Linked DNA regions of Homo sapiens: all the other regions are linked to region 4. Evidence: promoter capture Hi-C in 16 types of primary human blood cells and fetal thymus (Javierre and others, 2016). All regions are on one chromosome and are shown on one strand. Each heading gives the region's core, a stretch centred on a gene start or on the middle of the fragment in contact. The rest is flanking DNA. Distances are from core to core; before and after follow the strand shown. Region 1 holds the start of CFAP206 (cilia and flagella associated protein 206). Region 2 has its middle 2.2 kb from the start of SLC17A5. Region 3 overlaps EEF1A1 (eukaryotic translation elongation factor 1 alpha 1). Region 4 holds the start of PHIP (PHIP subunit of CUL4-Ring ligase complex).

Region 1 (3,217 bases), core at 434-2,933, 8.3 Mb after region 4:
GGAGCTTCAGCCAGCATATTCTCATTTCAAGTAGAAAGAAAAGGAAAGGCAATAGACATAAAATGGAAGTGCTTTCCCTGACACCTCATCCAGTGATTACACTTACATCTCATTGGCTAGACCATGTCACAGGCCACTCTCACTGAGAAAGAGGTTGAGAGATTTTTTTTTTTAAAAGAGAACACTGTCATTCCCAACACAGGGTTAAATTAGTAACAGAAAGAGAAGAAAACATTGACATTAAGTAGGAATTAACAGTATCAAACATACTTCAGGGAGTATTTGTGCCAGGATTTGCCCATTAGTTTAAAACTATACTTAATATGATGGTATTATTCTTACCATCTTAAAAGATATTTAATATTCTAATATATAATATATGCTCATGGAAGACATTTTGGTAGCTATCTTAAAGTATAAAGAAGACAAATCAGCCATAAGCCATTACAAAGTTACAACCACTGTTAAAATTTTGCTATCTCACCGTCCTTTGGTTGCTTTACCTTGTATACTTACAGTATATTTGTATATCTAAATTGGGTTCATTCTCTACAAATAGCCAGTCTCATCTCCCTTGTATTTTTAAATTTTGTTTTATAGATCATAAGACAATATATACTCATTATGGAAAAATCTAGAAAAAACAGAAAAGTATAAAGAAATAAAAGTAATTTACCTATAATTCCATCCTTAGATCTAATTGCTTGCTGTGATTTTGAAAAACTGACCTACACTTTTTGTGCATTATATGTATGTCAATATAGTTTAAGTCATATTATATAAAAATTTCGCATTTGGCTTTTAACAAATATAAGACAAACACAAGGTTTTTGTTAACATAATTTTAAATACCTGCCTGATATTTTACTTAAATAACGTGTTTAGATTTCTAAGGCTGTGCTATTATAAATCTTGTTACTCTGAACATCTATTTTTACACAAGCTTCTTCCACATTCCGGGAACATTTTCTAGAAGGCGGAAATAAAATTGTGTTATATTATGATGTATATTCTTGAGTTTTTGTGTTGATTCATTTCCTAGTAATCAGGGAATGTCCTTAAGCAAAGCATATTCTGCATATTTGTTTGCAGTTTGAGAAAAATTACTGTTTAAAAATAAAACCTTGTTGTTTGATGCTCTCCTTCTAATGAGTATTTAATCCTTTTTCACACTTTCACGTCTGAAGGTGGGCCTAACGATATTATCGTTAAGGGATAAAACCTCATTATTTTGACTCGGACACTAATGTGTTCTTATCATGTGCTTCTTGAATGAGCAGTTTTCTCTTCGGGCATCTTGGAGCGTTCTGTTACAGACTTCCTTTGAACAACGGGACATGAAATAAAACCTCGATACTTTTTACTTTTGTTTTTTAAAACTAGATACTTTTACAAGAACTCTATTTGCCCAGGATACAGCCCTTCCGTTTTCCCAGCCTCTCCAACTGGCTCCTCCCTCTCCCCCACCCCGCTTTCAAAGCCGCCTCATCATTCCCACGCTAGCAAGTTAATATCCTTATTTACGAGAACTTGTGTTTCACAGTCTTAACCACGGAGGTTAAGATGTCTCTGCCTGAAATTCCTTTGTTTTTAAAGTTTTTCCAGCCCATCTTTTGGGGGAAAGACCCTCAAAGTGGGACCCCGCCCCACCCCCACCTGGCCCCGCCCCCTCTGGTCCGGAGCCTTCCATCTCCATGGTTACGCGGCGGTGGCTGCGAGCGCCCAACTGCTCCGACCGTCGCGGTGAGGGCCCCAGGACAGAAGCAGACAGACACGGCTCCTGCTGTCGATTCCGATCCAGGTCAGCCTACTCGGGGCTCCGCGCCCTTGACCCGGAGGCGTACCCCGCCAGGCGGCGAGCTTGGGGCGGCTGGCGGAGCTCGGGCGGCTGGAGGACCGCGTCCTGCCTCGTCGAGACTTAGCTCTCAGTCTCGATCCTTTAGGCTGCGCCGCCGCAGAGCTGGAACAGCGGTCCATTCCTGCCGGAGGCGCCACCCCAGGGCTGCAGGGCTGCCCTCTAGCCTTTGCGCGGGTGCCTGAGGCCTCCCGCTTCTGTTTCGCTCCACTGGCTACCCCAGAAGCCGGACCTCGGGAGACTTAGTAATTGGAGGGTGGGTGCAGGGAAGGTGCTGAGCCGCGTCCCTAGCGACCCGGCAGCGGCGCGCATGCGCACACAGATCCGGAGCGCGCACACAGATCCGGAGCGCGCACACAGATCCGGAGCGCGCACACAGATCCGGAGCGCGCACACAGATCCGGAGCGCGCACACAGATCCGGAGCGCGCACACAGATCCGGAGCGCGCACACAGATCCGGAGCGCGACGGACTCTCCCACTGACTGGCACTTGCGCATGCGCTGCCTGTGATCTTGGAGTACTGATTATAAGCTGTTTTAAGCGATTCCCTTAAGCCGCGCACTGTTGTAACCACTAAAAACAGGACTAATTTAGTCCTCACACCTCTGGAAAGAAGTGAAGCAAGTGCCCAAGGTCTCACAGCTGGACAGTGGTCGGGTCACCATGGAATCCAGGCAATCTGGTTTCACTGGACAAAATGCCTAGTGCTTCGTACTCATCCATTGGAAAGCTAATAATGCTGAGGAGTTGGCTTTATCTACCTGATATTGCCTTTGTTATACTCTACATGCCAACTTCCATTGTGCTTAGTTACTGATATTCAGGAAAATCAGAAAACTCGATCAAAACCTACCACTTTTTCCTTATAGTAAATGCTTTTTTTTATCGAGAGTCTGAACTCTATTTTAGATGTGCGGAAAAGATCATTTTAATGATCTGAGCAAGAATTGTTTTCCAAGATTCTAGTACAGTTCTGAAGGGTCATTTAATGAATGTGGTGGAATAAGCATTTCTCCTTTTAAAGCTGTACTCTTGGGTTTCTCATTAATTTTACCTCCCTCCCCTACAAATACTGCTTAGCCTTTTTTTTTTTTTCCTGAGACACAGTTTCGCTCTTGTTGCCCAGGCTGGAGTGCAATGGCACCGCAACCTCCGCCTCCCGGGTTCAAACGATTCTCCTGCCTCAGCCTCCCAAGTAGCTGGGATTACAGGCGTGTGCCACCACTCCCGGCTAATTTTGTATTTTTAGTAGAGACGGGGTTTCTCTGAGTTGGTCAGGCTGGTCTCGAACTCCCGACCTCAGGTGATCTGCCTGCCTTGGCCTCCCAAAGTGCTGGGATTACAGGCGTGAGCCATCGCG
Region 2 (3,044 bases), core at 342-2,841, 5.4 Mb before region 4:
ACCACATCTGGCTAATTTTGTTTCTACTTTTTATTTTTGTAGAGGCTTGGTCTTATTATATTGCCCAAGCTGGTTTCGAACTCCTGGGCTCAAGCAATCCTCCTCGGCCTCCCAAAGTGCTGGGATTACAGGCGTGAGCCACTGCTCCTGGTCCTAAAATAGCTTTTAGGCGGAAAAACAGCAATGGAAATTTGTTGAGTCCTATGATGTTGCTGGTTTTATAGGTAAAAGTAATCAACATAGGTAGTTTCATATGGTTCGACCTATGGAATCCTCTGATGTATGTGTGCATGCTTTATCTCCACGATAGAATTTGGATAGATTGTGCTAGCATTTGCGGACTCTGAAAGTGAAACTAGGAAAACCCAGCTTGCCTTGGCAGGGCAGATCTGGATCCGCCAATAAAGGCTGTCTCTGTGGAGGTAGAAAATAAGATGTAGATGCTCTCGGAGAGTTTGGTGTAGACAGGGAAGACCCACAAGCCACTAATTCAGTAAACCAGGTTAGAAGCTTAGTGAGGTTCACGTGAGAACAAAGGGGAGGGTCCTTTACCTAGAAGGGAGGGCGAGGATTTCTGTAGGCATCCCTACCTCCAGATCAGTAAATGCTAGAAAAGTTCTCAAGTTAAAGCAGCAAATCAAGCCTTGTTTCTGAGTTACTGAATTACCATGTAGATTTTTACACTCTCTAAGGGTTGTAGAAAAATGCAATTTTCAAACTGGATTATGCAGAGTCACCTGGCAAATCCTTTTAAAATGTAGATTCAGATTCAGCAGATCTGGTGTGATGGTTAATTTTATGTGTTAACTTGCTGGTTGTCTTTGGATGAGGTTAACACTAAAATCATTGAACTCTGGGTAAAGATGGCTGCCTTCCATAATCTGGGTGGGCTTCCTTCAATCAGTTGAAGGCCTATCTAGAATAAAAAATCCGACTCCCCCACTTCTCTTGCCCAAGCAAGGGAGACTTCTCCAGCAGAGTGTCCTCAGACTTCATCTGCACCACAGGTCCTCCTGGGTCTCCAGGCATGTGCACCATCATCTGTTTTGGGTCGAGTTGGCCAGCCTATATTGTGAAAGCCAAAACTTTATTACCCAAACTACCCAATTGGGGCTGTTTCTCTGAGAAGCCCAGTACATCTGGGATGTGCCTGAGATTCTGTATTGCTAACAAGCTCCCAGATGACCAAGGTTATAGATAACTTGGGCCAGGGAATATAGTTGCAACAGACTTGAAAGACTTCAAACCAGAGGAATTCTTTTTTTTAATATTTTTTATTTTAGAAATTTTAGGTTTACATAAACGTTGCAAAGATAGTACAGTGAGTTCTCCATACCCTTTGCTTAGTTTGACCTATTATTAAGATCTTACATTAGTATCATGCATATATCATAACTAACGAGCCAGTATAGATAATTATTAACTGAAGTTCATACTTAATTTGCGTTTCTTTAATTTTTACCTAATATCCTTTTTCGGTCCCAGGATCTCATCCAGGATGCCACATTACATGTCTCCTTAGGCTCCTCTAGATCGACAGTTCCTGACTTTCATTGCTTTTGCTGACCTTGACAGTTTTGTAGAGTACTGGTAGGTTTTGTAGAAAGTGTCTTAATTTGGGTTGTCGAATTTTTTTTTGAGACGAGGTCACGCTCTGTCGTCCAGGCTAGAGTGCAGTGGCACGATCTCGGCTCACTGCAGCCTCCACCTCCCAGGTTCAAGCGATTCTCCTGCCTCAACGTCCCGAGTAGCTGGGACTATAGGTGCATGCCACCACGCCCGGCTAATTTTTTGTATTTTTAGTAGAGATGGGGTTTCACCATGTTAGCCAGGATGGTCTCCATCTCCTGACCTCCTGCCTCAGCCTCCACCTGCCTCAGCCTCCCAAAGTGCTGGGATTACAGGCATGAACCACCACCCCCGGCCTGAATGTTTTTCTTATAATTAGACTGGGGTTATGGATTTTTGAGGGAAAGGTCATAGAGGTAAAGGGCCATTCTCATCATGTAATGTCAAGGGAATGTGCTGTCAACTTATTTATCACTGATGTTTATCAGTAGTGATGGTAAGCCTCATTGCATGCCTGAGGTTGTGTTTGTCAGGTGTTTTCACTGTGAAGTTAACTCTTTTCCCCCGGCCTTACTTTTCTCTTTGGAAGGAAATCAGTATGTGCAGCCTTCACTTAAGGGGTGGGGAGTTATCTATACTCCACCAGTTTCAGGGGAAGAATTCTTTTGTTTGGGAGATTTGTTTATTCTCCTACATTTATTTACTTATTCAATCATTTATTTTTATTAGTATGATGTCATGGTTATTATTTTATACTTTGGGTTATACTCCCAACACTATGTTATTTATTTTGTTGCTCAAATTGTTCCAGCTTTGGTGACTAAGAGCTCTTTCAGTTGGCTCTTGTGTCTTGCATGCCTCCATTGTTGTGTTTTTTGAGCATTCCCTTACTTTCTGGTACAACAAGATGTTCCAGGCTCATCTTGTGTATTCTCTACCCCTGCCATTTCTATAAGGAGAATGATATTACAAACTAACATCTGAGCATTGGGTGTACTTCTTCCTATTGCAGTGTCATTGATTCTAGGTTCAGAGGAGGTACTTTGGTTTTTGTTTTTATAATCTTCCCAAGAAGATTTTGAGACAGGATCTTACTCTGTCACCTAAGCTTGAGTGCAGAGGTGTGATCACGGCTCCCTGTAGGCTCCACCTCCTGGGCTCAAGTGATCCTCCTACCTCAGCCTCCCTGGTAGCTGAGACCACAGGCATGTGCCACCACGCCCTGCTAATTTAAAAACATTTTTGTTAGAGACAGGGCCTCCCTGTGACGCCCAGGCTGGGCTCAAGCAGTCCTCCTGCCTTGACCTTCCAAAGTATTGATATGATAGGTGTGAACCACTGTGCCTGGCCCCAAGAAGATTAAAAAAAAGTATGATGACACATTTTTTCCCCCTTATATCTGGCATTTATTTCCTGATTGCACACTACCATAAAAGATCATTGTTGGTGTTATTTATTTATTATTATTATTATTT
Region 3 (3,229 bases), core at 27-2,526, 5.6 Mb before region 4:
AATCTCAGTATATGCAAGTAAACTGACTCATTCCTGCTTCCAGTGGGAACAATTTTTCAGTTAAATCTTGCTTCCTTGCATGTCAAGAATTCTCTACTGGTAAATCTTACAGGTGTCAACTTTCATTATCAGGGCATCTATTGGCCATCTATTAAAGGCCTTACCTGTTTTTTCTGTCATCCAGCAAATCTTAGACTATTTACTTGTGTAAACATTAGATAGCAAAGAAACTAAGGACAAAAATCTCTAGTTCAATTTAGACTTGATACCTCAGAGCACTGGCTGATGGGAAGGCATTTTATCTAATTCAGACTCAGATGAGGGAAAACGATAACACTTCATTACAGACTTGTCTATGGCCAATTCAAGTACCTTTGAATCTTGAGCAATACACATTGCCAGTCACTTTAAGAGGCCTTATCTCTTGGGCTGCTTTAACTCCTGCTTAGCATGTCCTTAAGAACACATGTCCTGGCCAGGCATGGTGGCTCATGCCTGTAATTCCAGCACTTTAGGAGGCCGAGGCGATCACCTAAGGTCAGGAGTTTGAGACCAGCCTGACCAACATGGAAAAACCTCATCTCTATTAAAAACACCAAATTAGCACATGCCTGTAATCCCAGCTACTTGGGAGGCTGAAGTAGGAGAATTGCTTGAACCCAGGAGGAGGAGATTGCAGTGAGATTTTGCCATTGCATTCTAGCCTGGGCAACAAGAACTCCATCTTAAAAAAAATTTTTAAAAACCATCACACAAACAGAAAGCATGTCCTTTAATTTTACCTATCCTTCAAACTTAAGCAAAAATTTTCCTTTTATAACCAAAAAAAAACCTTTAGACACTTTTACATATGGGAGGTCAGGCACAGTGGCTCATGCCTGTAATCCCAGCAGGAAGATCGCGAAAAGCATTTTTCAAATGCACAAATGCTTAAAGATTCAGGAGTAAGTGGGCTATTACACCTGTTAAGCCTATTACCATGTAGTTTCATTCCTAGTGACCAAGTAGACAAACTGCTAATTATCAAAGCATAAAAGGTATTAGACTCTGCAGGAGAAAAGCAATGTAGATTAGTCTAATTTTATAGCTACTTCAAATTGCCATCTTTTTCTATTAGAACCTTGTTCCTATTCTGAATAGCACTCAATAGAACTTGTGAAACCATCAAACTGGCATAAAGCTTACTCCACTGACTTCAAAATGGACCCTTCCACTCATAGGGTGTACACTAGCCACTACACTTATTTCTTATGTCATGGCAAATAGTCAACTTTCACTGCCCAGTCATTTTAACCCACGTTTCAACATGCACATCCCAGTAATTTGGAAACATTTTGTTTCCAAAGATTCACTTAACATTGGTTTAGCAACATGAAGCTTTCTATGCAACACAAGGACTCAGTTTTTGGCCTGTTTTAGTGACAGGCAATCAGCAACATGCTGCATTTCTCTCCAGTGTTGTAATCAAAGCAACCCTCCCATAGCTTTAAATGATATTCCTTCCCCTTCCAATTATGTGGGGGGAAAACAACCCTATTCTCCACCCAGAAGTGTTAACTCAAGAATTACATTTTCAAGAAGTTTCCAGATTCGTAAAACCAGAATTAGATGTCTTTCACCTAAATGTCTCGGTGTTGACCAAAGGAACACACAGGTTTCTCATTTAACTTTTTTAATGGGTCTCAAAATTCTGTGACAAATTTTTGGTCAAGTTGTTTCCATTAAAAAGTACTGATTTTAAAAACTAATAACTTAAAACTGCCACACGCAAAAAAGAAAACCAAAGTGGTCCACAAAACATTCTCCTTTCCTTCTGAAGGTTTTACGATGCATTGTTATCATTAACCAGTCTTTTACTACTAAACTTAAATGGCCAATTGAAACAAACAGTTCTGAGACCGTTCTTCCACCACTGATTAAGAGTGGGGTGGCAGGTATTAGGGATAATATTCATTTAGCCTTCTGAGCTTTCTGGGCAGACTTGGTGACCTTGCCAGCTCCAGCAGCCTTCTTGTCCACTGCTTTGATGACACCCACCGCAACTGTCTGTCTCATATCACGAACAGCAAAGCGACCTATTAAAAAAAAAGTTAATTATTACCCAAAGTACTGTTCAGTTGTATTTTTCATCTTTAACACAACTTTTTTACATTTAAGTAGTCATCCTTACCCAAAGGTGGATAGTCTGAGAAGCTCTCAACACACATGGGCTTGCCAGGAACCATATCAACAATGGCAGCATCACCAGACTTCAAGAATTTAGGGCCATCTTCCAGCTTTTTACCAGAACGGCGATCAATCTTTTCCTTCAGCTCAGCAAACTTGCATGCAATGTGAGCCGTGTGGCAATCCAATACAGGGGCATAGCCGGCGCTTATTTGGCCTGGATGGTTCAGGATAATCACCTTGGAAAAAAGATTTGCATTCAGTGCAAATCCAAAGTCTCAAATGACTTTAGCCTCTGCAATAAGTTAATGTTACTTTAAATTGTTACCTGAGCAGTGAAGCCAGCTGCTTCCATTGGTGGGTCATTTTTGCTGTCACCAGCAACGTTGCCACGACGAACATCCTTGACAGACACATTCTTGACATTGAAGCCCACATTGTCCCCAGGAAGAGCTTCACTCAAAGCTTCATGGTGCATTTCGACAGATTTTACTTCCGTTGTAACGTTGACTGGAGCAAAGGTGACCACCATACCGGGTTTGAGAACACCAGTCTCCACTCGGCCAACAGGAACAGTACCAATACCTAAAAATATTTACAGCATACTAAATACCTATGAAGGCAGACAGTACTCTATCAACTCAAATTCAACTTTGTTTACAGCCAACTTACCACCAATTTTGTAGACATCCTGGAGAGGCAGGCGCAAGGGCTTGTCAGTTGGACGAGTTGGTGGTAGGATGCAGTCCAGAGCCTCAAGCAGCGTGGTTCCACTGGCATTGCCATCCTTACGGGTGACTTTCCATCCCTTGAACCAAGGCATCTGAAACACAAGCATGCCAATTTGTGTAAGCATGAAATCGCCATTCCCAGAGCTTTTTAACAATGGTCTTGAAAGCCACTTACGTTAGCACTTGGCTCCAGCATGTTGTCACCATTCCAACCAGAAATTGGCACAAATGCTACTGTGTCGGGGTTGTAGCCAATTTTCTTAATGTAAGTGCTGACTTCCTTAACAATTTCCTCATATCTCTTCTGGCTGTAGGGTGGCTCAGTGGAATCC
Region 4 (2,840 bases), core at 337-2,836:
CAGTAAATATGTGGACAAAAATCAAAACTCTTCAGTGTACTCCAATAATAATTTTTAATTAAACGAGAGGCATACCATAAGAATTAAAAAAAGCCTACTAAACTTCTGGTTTTAGGGAATTACAGGCTTTACACTTCTGCAAAGATGTGTTTTAGTAAATGCAAGACGAAGCACTGACCAACTATCATCACACATCAGAATCCTTCCAACAAAAAACCCAGGACTGAATTTAAGGAAAACAAAATAAACGACAGAGGGGGAAAAAATAATGTCTTGCCACGGTACCGCAGCGGCTGGATAGCCTGCTTGTGAAATGCTAATGCCACTTCGGAGCAGTTAGTCACCAGCTATTGTGTAGGGCAGGAGAAAGCCGAGCCGGCCGCGCGTGCAGAGCGAGCAAGCGAACGAGCGAGCGCGCTCTCCCTCTTCGCGCCGCTCCCGCCGCCGCCGACTCTCGCGCGCCCCCGCGCCCGCACGGACGCGCGCGCCGGCCCCTCCTCCTCCGGCCTTGCACTGCACAACACTCATGACGTATCTTTATTTCTAGCACATTAACAAAATATCACAAATAAATTGTCCGCAGCCCCTGCGGCCCCGAAGTACGAGTACCCCCGGCCACTGGCCCCCGCAGACCCCGCGCCGGCCTCCCAACCCTCCCCATGGCCTTTGGAGCTTTCACGTTCTAGGGCCAAGTTTTTGTCTCTGTAAAAAATTGCGGGAAATTCAATTTTTATTCGACTCAGGGAAAAGTTTCTTTGCTCTGCGACGTGAATGTCTCACCAGATTCTGGTAGGTCCTGGGATGCTCCTTCCCGGTCCAGTCGGTGCGCCGGGGCAGCAGCTGCGGGGAGAGGACACCCCGTGAGCCCGGCCCCCGGCCCCTACCCGCCCGCTCCCCTCCCCCGCCCGCCCCGCGCCCCGGCGGGGACCCCGAGCCCCGCGCCCCGCGCCCTGCCGGCGGCGGCAGCGGCGGCGCAGCGGCCCAGAGGCGGCCGCGCGGCGGCGGGACGCGCCGGGCCGCCGCCGCCCTTACCTCCTTCTCGGCCACCTCGCGGATCAGCACCTGCAACAACAAAGCGGGGAGAGCTGAGCCCCGCGCCCCGGGCCGCGGCCCCGCCGCCGCCGCCTCCCTCCCCCACGCCCGCGAGCGGCGAGCGCCGGCCCGGCCCGCGCCGCGCGCCGCCGTACCTGAGCCGCCTGCTGACAGGGTCCATCTTCCAGGAACCGGGCGATGAGGAAGTAGAGCTCTGCGCGGGAGAGAGGGACGGGGAGACACACAGGCTGAGCGGTCGGGCGGCGGGGGGCGGGGGACCGCGGGCGGAATCGCCCGGTGCCAGCGGCCCCGGCAGCCCCCCGACTTACCCGATCGCAGCTCCGAGAGGCCTTTCCTCTCACAAGACATGTTTATGGGTCACTTCAGGGCCGCCGACGGGACACCCCGCCGCCGAGGGGAAGCGGGGACGGTGCCGCCGCCTGCCCTATAGCTGTCAGTGTGTGTTCACGAGCCGAGCTTCGGCTCCACCATTCAAGCAACGGCGGCGGAGGCGGAGGAGGAGGAGGAGGAAACAACAACTCTCAGGCAGCGACTACGGCCGTGGCCGCCTCCGCCGCGGATCCCTCCGCCGCAGAAAGGAGTCCGCCGCCTTCGCGGCCCAGGGCTCGGCCCCGGCTCTGGCCCGCGCCCCCGCCCCCCGGCGCTAAAAAAGGAGTGCCTCCGACCCCTCGTCCCCAGCGCTCCGCACGCGGCACAGTGAGACCCCCACCCGCTCCTCCCCGCAGGGCGTGCGATTTATTTATTTATTTCCAGTCGGAGAAGATGTCGGAGCCCAAGCCGCCGGTTGGCTGGAAGGCGCTTTCTCTGTGGAGGCCGATAGTGGCAGGGAGGGGGCCGGGGACGGTTCCGCGGAGGGATCTGACGCACACGGAGCCGCAGCACAGGCTCTATTCAGCGGCGCTGGCTGGAGCTGAGATGGAAGTTAGTTTCTATGTAGCAGAAATATGAAACAAATGAAGCAAAACTGCCCAGAGAGGGGAAATGCCCCAAGGATGGGTCTCACTCACGCGCGTACACAGACACACACGCAGAGAGCACTCTCACGCTGGGCAAGCTCGGGATCGCGCTACCCTTCCCGAGTTGAATGATAGTGTTTGGTTTCTGTCTCTTGCCATGTGCATGTGTATAAATGCTGCGGATTGGCATCTGTGTAAGTCTTGTCCTGCGTTATTTCTGCAGCCTATGCAAGTGTTGTGTAATTTATTGGAGTGCTGTATATTGCAATAGAGGTTTGGGCTGCTTTTTGTTAAGCACTTGCGTTTTGCAAACCCGTTATTTGCTGAAGCCACCTCTGCATATTTCTTTTATTACTGCCATTGCCTTTGGCGTACGTTTTTTAAATGTTTTTTATTGTTAAACGGGCAAAGCGAACTCTTGATTTGTACTTCAGATACTCTTTTTCCTTATTACAAAAAGGCTAGTGATGGCTAATTAGGTATTTGGAATTAAAGAACCTTAAAGCTTTTTTAAGTGTTTACGAGAAGGGAGAATGTAAACCTGAGGGAAAGGAAAGGACGCTAATATTCATGTCTAACTGATCTGGAGGTAATTTAGTGACAGATCGATAACCTGCCTAAGGATATTGAAAGAGTATACTACAGTTTAGCCAAGGTGAATAGTGATTAAATAATTTAAATAATCTGTGTATCTTGCAGTTGACTTCGTCATGCTAATTAATGGCTTCTAATTTGAGATGTAAACCATTCCTGTTTACAGTTAATCACGGGAAGACTTCTTGAAAACTGACGAAAAGGAGAAAAAAAAATCTTTCGTAAATTAGTATGTAA

Evidence for each region. The method cuts DNA at HindIII sites, captures the fragments that hold promoters and counts their contacts. A CHiCAGO score of 5 or more calls a contact.
Region 1: the fragment with the promoter of CFAP206 here is called in contact with the fragment with the promoter of PHIP in region 4 in 2 of 17 cell types (total CD8 T cells and activated CD4 T cells); the score reaches 14.5 in total CD8 T cells.
Region 2: a contact is called between a fragment that was not itself captured here and the fragment with the promoter of PHIP in region 4, in 3 of 17 cell types (total B cells, total CD8 T cells and fetal thymus). The highest score is 11.1, in total B cells.
Region 3: a contact is called between a fragment that was not itself captured here and the fragment with the promoter of PHIP in region 4, in 1 of 17 cell types (total CD8 T cells). The highest score is 5.3, in total CD8 T cells.

The regions. Positions count from the first base shown.
Region 1 is chr6:87,406,289-87,409,505 of GRCh38, forward strand. It overlaps CFAP206 (cilia and flagella associated protein 206), which reads left to right and starts at 1,684. Exons shown (of 13, transcript NM_001031743.3): 1 at 1,684-1,801. The HindIII fragment of the contact is 4,290 bases long and covers 942-3,217 here.
Region 2 is chr6:73,654,640-73,657,683 of GRCh38, forward strand. No RefSeq gene overlaps it. Among named protein-coding and RNA genes, the nearest start is that of SLC17A5, 2.2 kb to the left of the region's middle. RefSeq lists an enhancer at 468-557. The HindIII fragment of the contact is 2,167 bases long and covers 509-2,675 here.
Region 3 is chr6:73,515,860-73,519,088 of GRCh38, forward strand. EEF1A1 (eukaryotic translation elongation factor 1 alpha 1) reads right to left here. Exons shown (of 8, transcript NM_001402.6): 4 at 3,073-3,229; 5 at 2,839-2,989; 6 at 2,495-2,751; 7 at 2,171-2,405; 8 at 1-2,075. The coding sequence ends at 1,951. Among named protein-coding and RNA genes, the nearest start is that of EEF1A1, 3.6 kb to the right of the region's middle. The HindIII fragment of the contact is 197 bases long and covers 1,179-1,375 here.
Region 4 is chr6:79,076,668-79,079,507 of GRCh38, forward strand. It overlaps PHIP (PHIP subunit of CUL4-Ring ligase complex), which reads right to left and starts at 1,587. Exons shown (of 40, transcript NM_017934.7): 1 at 1,362-1,587; 2 at 1,188-1,246; 3 at 1,033-1,062; 4 at 781-840. The coding sequence starts at 1,401. It overlaps LOC124901346 (a long non-coding RNA gene), which reads left to right. Exons shown (of 2, transcript XR_007059652.1): 2 at 1-599. RefSeq lists silencers at 306-805, 1,305-1,474, 1,605-1,844 and an enhancer at 1,965-2,014. The HindIII fragment of the contact is 4,735 bases long and covers 1-2,512 here.